2 separate regions of the Homo sapiens genome follow, and region 1 is linked to region 2. Evidence: promoter capture Hi-C in human tissues and cell types (Jung and others, 2019). All regions are on one chromosome and are shown on one strand. Each heading gives the region's core, a stretch centred on a gene start or on the middle of the fragment in contact. The rest is flanking DNA. Distances are from core to core; before and after follow the strand shown.

Evidence for each region. The method cuts DNA at HindIII sites, captures the fragments that hold promoters and counts their contacts. A contact is called where the count stands out against the background at its distance.
Region 1: a fragment that was not itself captured here is called in contact with the fragment with the promoter of CRY2 in region 2 in 1 of the 25 tissues and cell types used here (pancreas).

Annotation. Positions count from the first base shown.
Region 1 is chr11:44,614,240-44,618,054 of GRCh38, forward strand. CD82 (CD82 molecule) reads left to right here. Exons shown (of 10, transcript NM_002231.4): 7 at 1,033-1,134. Among named protein-coding and RNA genes, the nearest start is that of CD82-AS1, 11 kb to the left of the region's middle. RefSeq lists an enhancer at 2,178-2,527. The HindIII fragment of the contact is 7,048 bases long and covers 1-3,815 here.
Region 2 is chr11:45,845,668-45,849,755 of GRCh38, forward strand. CRY2 (cryptochrome circadian regulator 2) reads left to right here and starts at 1,808. Exons shown (of 12, transcript NM_021117.5): 1 at 1,808-2,038. The coding sequence starts at 1,824. RefSeq lists enhancers at 1,259-1,368, 1,419-1,468, 1,829-2,068, 1,999-2,520 and a silencer at 2,469-2,578. The HindIII fragment of the contact is 4,522 bases long and covers 1,079-4,088 here.

The DNA.
Region 1 (3,815 bases), core at 397-2,896, 1.2 Mb before region 2:
CCCCTCCAGGCATCTACCCTGCTGTCTTGGGGGCCCTGTTTGGAGAGGCTGCACTCTGGTCCTTGGAAGAAGGAAACTGAGCTGGGCTTTCCTCCCTGTCCCTCCTTCTCCCTGAAGCTGCCCTGTGGGAGGTGTAAGGATTCACCAAGAAGTTGCATGGGTCTGGCTCTGGTGCCTGGCAGACCATGGTGGTTAGGTGTGCATTCAGCATTCACGTACCCCACACAACTATTCTGTGCCAGGCTTGGCGCTAGCCACGGGGGACCCTGTAGTGAGCGTGCCAGATGTGGTCCCTGCCCCCACGGAGCTGATGTGCTAGTGGAGAGAGATGATAAGCCCTGAAAACCAACAAGCATGTAACGTCAGTGCTCTAAAGAGAAATACAGCATGCTTTCCCTTGTGGGATAAGGGAGGCCGGGGAGGGGTGGTTGATTGGTTGGGGGAGAGGGGATGGGGAAGGGCTGATATTTTGTAGAGTGGTCTGGTAAGGCCTTTCTGAGGAGGTGACATTGGAGCAGAGCCCTGAAGGAAGCAGAGGGTGAGCCATGTTAATGTCTAGGGGAAGAGCATTCCAGGCGGTGGGAACAGCAGGTGCAAAGGCCCCAAGGCAGGAGTGTGCCTGGCACAAAGACAGCACAGAAATCTAGTCAGTTGAAGCAGAGGGAGGAAGAACAGAGGACAGAAGGCCTGGGGAGGCAGACAAGTGGTGTAGGACCTCCTAGGCTGTTATGGGGACAATGACGGTGGGAACTGCCCTGGAGGTGGGAGGCCCCTACGGGGTTTTCAGCAGTGACATGAGAATATTGATGTTTACAGGGCCAGGCTGCTGCCAAGCGCAGAAGAGATAGTGGGGCAGGAGTGGTTGGCACTGCCTGCATCGGGCACCCTGGGAGCGCCAGGAAAGTGGCTGGAGCCATGAGCGTGTCCCAGGGTTGCTGAGGGGAACGGGGGGAGGCAGTTTAAGTAGGGGTGACCACAGGTGGGCACGGGTTTCAGGAAATCTGACCCTGACCTTTGTCCTCCCCCCTGCAGCTGAAGCAGGAGATGGGCGGCATCGTGACTGAGCTCATTCGAGACTACAACAGCAGTCGCGAGGACAGCCTGCAGGATGCCTGGGACTACGTGCAGGCTCAGGTGAGGTGGGGCGGGGCTGCAGGAGGCTCTCTGGCCTGGGTGTCCCTGCATTTGGGGCTCTGTGCACCCACATGTCTGGGACTGGCATCTGCAGTGCTCGTGTGTGCCTGACAGTTTGTAGGAGAGTGTGCTTCTATGGGGGCAGGGCACCCCAGTTAGCACCACAACTCCCTGCTCAGGGGGCCCAGAGACTCAGAGGCAGCTTCACAGCTCTGTGCTCCCATTTGTGGCCAGAGAGCATGGGGGCAGTTGTCAGCCCTCTTATCTCAAGCTACACTGGGGAGCGTTGGGAGCTCCACTCTGGGTTTTAGGAAACTGGGAGCCAAGGCTGATATGCTGAGAAGTCCCAGTGAAGGCTGCCTCTGGGGAAGGGCACTAGCTGGGGAGGTGTTGGGGAGCCTTCTAGGGCAAAAGGAGTATTTTAGCCAAATCTTGATACTGGTTTCGCCAGTATGTGCACATACGTAAAAATGCACCAAGCTGAATGTGTGCCCATTAGTTCATGTGTATTATACCTCCATTAAAGTGAGAGAGATGGATGGATGGATGGGTGGACAGATGGACGGACGGACTGACCGACTGACCAACAGATAGACTGACCAGGTTCCCAGCCTGTCTCAATAGTGATCCAATGACCACCTGGCTCTCCTTTCTTGTGGTCCCGGATGCTGCATGTGCCCTTGGCTGGGACCTGACATCTCTGATCTGCAATCCTGTGAGGGCGCAGGACACAGTGGTCACTTAGGGCCTGTTGACACCTCAGGGGAGGGATGTGGAGTACAAAGGGCATGGGCAGCAGGAGAAAGCCTGACTCAGCGGCACCAGGAGAGTTTGCAGAGAGGACACTCCATCTAGGTGACATGGACATGGCCATTTTCTCAGTGGAGGAAGGGGAGAGCGATGTTTTCTGGCCCTGACCGAGGAGATCAGGTGTGGGGGTTGTGGCAGCTGGAAGGCTTGGTGCACACAAGGAAATGTTTTGGTCGCATATGTAGTTTGACCCACAATTGCTGAGACTTTGCTAATTTTAGCAAAGTCTGGATGTCACCAGTGACATAAACCAGTGCCACCTGACAAGGGACCTGGGAGGAGAAGTGGGTCCCTTGGGAGGTGGTAAGCATCCTACCCTGGAAAGTCATTGGCTGGTTCTAGATGATTCTGATGCTGTCAGATGCTGCTTAGGCCGGTGGTAAGTCAGACTCCCAAGGCCTGGAGTGCTAACACTGCCACAGCCGCTAGACCTTTGCTGAGCCTGCTTCCTCATCTATACAATGGGGCTACTGACCCATGCCGTGTGAGATACATTGTTAAAGCCTGAAGCACTTAGGCAGCATTTATTATGTGGTATGTTGGTGGTGATGTTTTAGTCACCATGCACATCCATGGAGACACAGGCGGAGGTGGCGTGTGCTGCTGGGGACCAGGTACAGCCGGAGTCAGGCCAAGGGGTTGCTTGGAAGGAGGCTCTGTCGTAGACGGGCCAAGGAGACCTGCCTCATTTTGCTCTGGTGTAGGATGGCCTGTGGGTGCCCCCAGCCTTGCAGACCTGTGCACCCCTCAGAGGTGCCAGCCTTTTCTTGGAGAGAGGAGGCAGCCCGGCTGCTGGAACAAGCACCTGTAAACCTGGATTAGAAACTGCCTGGAGCTGAGCATTTCTGAGTGTGCCTGGCACGCCCCCTGCTGGCCACTGGCTACTGGTCAGGCGACACCCCTCGGAGCTAGGAAGGAAGCGGTCCAGGAACTGACCCCTGCTGTGACCGTGGCTATCCCATTGAATCCTCCCAGGAACCCCCAGCATTGCGGGGATTCACACACAGAGACCTCCTTTAGCACACAGAGCCCGGAAAGGCTTTCTTCTCTCTAGAACTAGAGCATTTTCTCCTTTAAAATGGCAGAATTGACCAGCTAGCCAAGGTGGCTCACACCTGTAATCCCAGCACTTTGGGAGGCCGAGGCGGGCGGATCACTTGAGGTCAGGAGGTCAAGACCAGCCTGGCCAACATGGTGAAACCCCGTCTCTACTAAAAATACAAACATTAGCCGGGCGTGATGGCGAGTGCCTGTAATCCCAGCTACTCAGGAGGCTGAAGCAGGAGAATCGTTTGAACCCTGGAGGTGGAGGTTGCAGTGAGCCAAGATCACGCTGCTGCACTCCAGCCTGGGTGACTGAGCAAGACTCTGTCTCAGAAAAAAAAAAAAAAAAAAAAAAGGCGGAATTGACCCCGTCTCCTTTTTCACTTTTCACTTTTTTTCCTTTTCACCAGGAAGCTCAGAGGCAAATCTCAACTCCTGCACTAAAGTTGAACGGCCTTTCCTAAGCTTATTGTGCTCCCCACACCTATGCTTGGTACTTTGCCTGCCTCATCCCATTTAGTCCTTGTGATAGCCCTGTGAGTTGGGGATTTTAATTATCCCCATTTACAGATGAGGAAACTGAGGCTAGTTCCTTGATGGAGGTTGCTCAGCTGGTAGGCGGCAGGGCTGGGATTGTAACCCAGTAGCCTGACTTTAAACCCTGCACTGTGAACTGTCTGCCGTCCATTCTCCTTGTGCCCTGCACACCTGCGCTCCTTCAACTTGAACTTCCTTCCTACTCTGCTTTGTATTTTTGCTGGTCCTGGTTTTGATTTTTCTGCTGTACTTGTAGTTTATGATGGTTCGGCTGGGACCAGGGGCCTGGA
Region 2 (4,088 bases), core at 558-3,057:
ATCTCTGAGGTTAAGGGAGAACCACCTCCTTACACTCTGTTTCATTCCTAGCAAAGCACCAACCTTGTGGAGAGAAGAGGGCATAGGAGAGGGGGAACACAAAACCTTAAAATAAAAGTAATGAAAGATTGCATCGATTTATTCAGCAAGAATTTGGAAAGGAAATTCAAAAATAAGGAAAGGGTCAGGTAAGCGGACTAGGATAAACCTTTAAGAGCCTGCCAATATGAGACTCTAGTTCAATTTTTACTCAAATAATCCTTGAGCGTTAGGTGCCAAGCCCTGAGCTAGACTTCAGACATACAACTGTATGTAAATAAGCCACAGCCCCTGCTCTCCAGGAGTTTATACTCTAATGGGGCAGAAAGACTTTTAAGCAAGAAATTTCAGTATTGTGTGCCAAGACAAGTGACCAAAAAGAAGCACAGAATAAGATGGGGCACTATTCAGGTTGGGATCAGACAGCAAGAAGGTGACATCTATACTGAACAATGATACAGAGCAAACTGGAGTTAGAAACAAAGATGGAAGAGGGAGTGTGATCTAGACTGCTGGAACAGCTCGTGAAAAGCCCTGGAAATGACAGAGAATGCCTAGGATTGCAGTGACACTGGTTTAGAGAGTGGTGCCAATTAATGCCACTAAATTGCAGACTAAATTACTAAATGCTTTCATCACTCTGTCCCAGGTCCAGGAAGGGTTCCAAGCATGGGCTCAACCTAGGGTCAAGTTGAAACAGACTGTTTTCCACCTGATAACCCCAAAGCTGCAGCTTGACTAAGCCGTCTTAGCCCAAGAGGGTTCCACCTGGCGTCCCAGAAGAATGGGGACAGTGTCCTCCACATCTCTGAACCCTACCCGGAATCCAGTACAGTGCTTTGCACACACTGGATCTACTAAACAGACTAAAAGAAAATAAATTCATCTGATGGCATAATTACTATCTCAATTCAAGTCCCCCACATTCCCAGTCCTTACTCCCAAATCCTCTACTGCTGCATATTAGGGCACTCCTTCCCCGTCCTTAGACTCTGCCACTTGGAATTACCAAGGATCTTCGCACAAAGAGAAGTATAGCTTCGTGGATAAAAGCAGAAATTTCGAAATCAGAATAATCTGGGTGAAATCCTCTTAGCAGCTTTATGATATTGAATAAGTCACTCAACCTGCGGCACCCTCCGTTTTCTTCATCTGTGAAACGAAAACAACAGCAGCTTTTTCACTGGGGTTCGCTAAATGAATGTAACTGGGCTGAGTTGAGAATAGTAAATGAGACCGTCTACGTAAGGAGATGATCATGTCTCTTGCCATATAAAGTGCACTTAATAAATGGCAGCTGTAGTAGAATGATGTAGATGGTGATGGTGACGATGTTGGTGATAATAGGAAGGTCAGCTGTCAGTCTTGCAAGTCACTGGCTGTAGTCACAGCAACCCCTACCAGCCCAGGCAGCTTCTTCTAGAAGCAGGCCCTGAACAGGACGTGGGTAAGAGATCCGCTGTCCCTTGAGACTTGGCCTACTCCCGGCACTCCGCGGACAGCCCCAGCCTGCGGACAGCCCCAGCCTGCGTCACTTGTCCGCATGCCAGCTCCACCCGGGCGGACCCACACATGGTAGGAACGTGAGGGGGCGGGCCTGTTCCGGCGCCTCTGGGCCAATCGCCAGGTGGAAGGCACTCAGCCAATGGCAGAGGGGCTCTGGGGCCCTGTGGGCGGGGACTAAGGGTGGAGTTGCGGCGTCATAGGTCACTGGGCGGGCTATGGGCGGGGTCCACGTCGCCTACCGGGGCGGAGCGGGGGTGGCTGGAGCAGTCTGGACAGTCATGGCGGCGACTGTGGCGACGGCGGCAGCTGTGGCCCCGGCGCCAGCGCCCGGCACGGACAGCGCCTCTTCGGTGCACTGGTTCCGCAAAGGGCTGCGACTCCACGACAACCCGGCGTTGCTGGCGGCCGTGCGCGGGGCGCGCTGCGTGCGCTGCGTTTACATTCTCGACCCGTGGTTCGCGGCCTCCTCCTCAGTCGGGATCAACCGATGGAGGTGAGGGGACCCGGGGCTGGGTGGCGGGGACGCAGCCAGGACCCTGACCCTGGGGTGACCGGCGAACAGCACGATCCCCCCAACCCCGCCACGGCTGGAAGGCCAGAGGGGAGAAGCCGAGACCGGGGAAGTAATTCGTCATGGTCCTAACGCGCCGGTGGGCCAGGGTTCAGCCTCTGACAAAGCGCGTTCGCACTGTTACCCCTTTGAGCCTCACAACTGCCTGTGGAACGGAGATCATGATCCCCGTTGTACAGATGAGACCCTTGAGCCCTGGAGACCCAAAGTCGACCTGCCCAAGGACTTGTAGCCAGTGAGTGGCAGAACAGGGGCTCCTGGTCTAGGGCTCTTACGGTCTACTCAGGGAGGGGCGGAAGGGAGATAACGTAGTGTGAGGGCGGGACGGGTTTTTGCTCGCATTCTTCAAGAGCCCGTTGCTGGGCTCGGGGAGATCACTCCGAAGCCTCTGGCTCGTTTGAATCCGCCCTACCACCCATCCTGGCTACCCTGCACCCAGACCGTCCTGCCTCTAGGGGTGTCAAGTGACCCTGGCTTAGCATTAAATAAGGTCTTCTCCCCTATATTATAAATAAAGAAGCCAAAGGCGTCTTCAGGTGGAGTCGCTTTATGTTCAAAGCTCCAGAGAATCCAGGGGATTCTCCAAAATGTTTTAAGCCCTGCTCTGGAGCTTTGACCTCGATAGAAAAATTTAAAAGAATCCAAAGTGTCACCCCGTCATCCTCTTGTCATGATTTTAGAGGACAGTAGAGCCATTAGAGATGAGACTTTTATGAACTGTTGTGGTAAGGTTAGGGAGCAGGAAAGCCATGATATCAAGGGCCCCTCTGATGACCCCCCAGGAGATGGAGTCGACATGATCATGGAAAAAGATGAACAGGTCGTTAGTGTATTTTCACTGTAAACAGTATTCAAACTAAAGAGTTTTGAGACATAATGTACCCATCGCTCTTCAGAACACCTAGTGGCAGTCGCTCGGTTTGTTTGCATTGTTCTGGGGAATGTTTGCTTGTGGCCTTGTTGCATCGATGGACAGGGTTATTTCCAGGATACCGTGGCTCTCGGCACACCATTCTTTTCTCTCCAAGGTGTGTGCCCTGCTAAGAGAGTGAGTGCTGCTAGCAGTGGGCCTGTTCAGTGTCCCCTCCTGCCCAGAAGGAACAACTAAGGAGTCCTGTGGAGAGCCTGCCCACAGTTTTCAGGCTGCCTTATTGCTCTGTCTCTGCTCCAGTTTTCTACAGATAGGAGGTTGGGTTTGACAAGCATCATCAAATGACCATCCCTAGTGTGCACATTAAGCCAAGCCTCAGACTTTGCCCTGCACCAGTCGGAGCCAGGCAAATGGAATCCGACTACCTTCTTGTTACATTGTCACAGAGTTTCTTCTTTTATTGGGTTTTGGGGGACATTGCATAGTACTGCCTACTCTTTTTTGATAGGGAAGATTAAAAATCAACAATAAAATTCCTGTTGATTAAACTCCAGTTTGCTAGGAACCAGGTGTTTATGGATTTTTGTGGGTCATCATTTTGTGATCGTGCTATCAATCTAGTGAAGAAGAAAAGGAATGTGGCTCAGATGCCTGAGTCAAATCCTGAAGTCAGAGGCTGTGTAAGAATGCAGATATTAATTGATCACTTAATAAGTGCCTAATATCTGCCAGGTACTGCTCTAGATGTTGCTAGGGATACAGCAGTGAATAAGCAGATGTGTCTGTGCTCCAGAACTCCTGGAGCCTACATTTTACCAACAAACAACCATAATTTAGTGAAACGAAGTGCCATGAGAAACATAAGATAAGGGGACAGACTAGAGCAGTGGTTCTCAATCTTGGCTGCTGTGCATTGGAATCCCATAAGGGTCTTTAAAAGATACCTGGGCCCCTTTCCCCCAATTCTATTTTTTTTTTTTTTTGAGACGGAGTTTTGTTCTTGTTGCCCAGGCTAGAGTACAATGGCGCAGTCTGGACTCACTGCAACCTCCACCTCCCGGGTTCAAGCAATTCTCCTGCCTCAGTCTCCCAAGTAGCCAG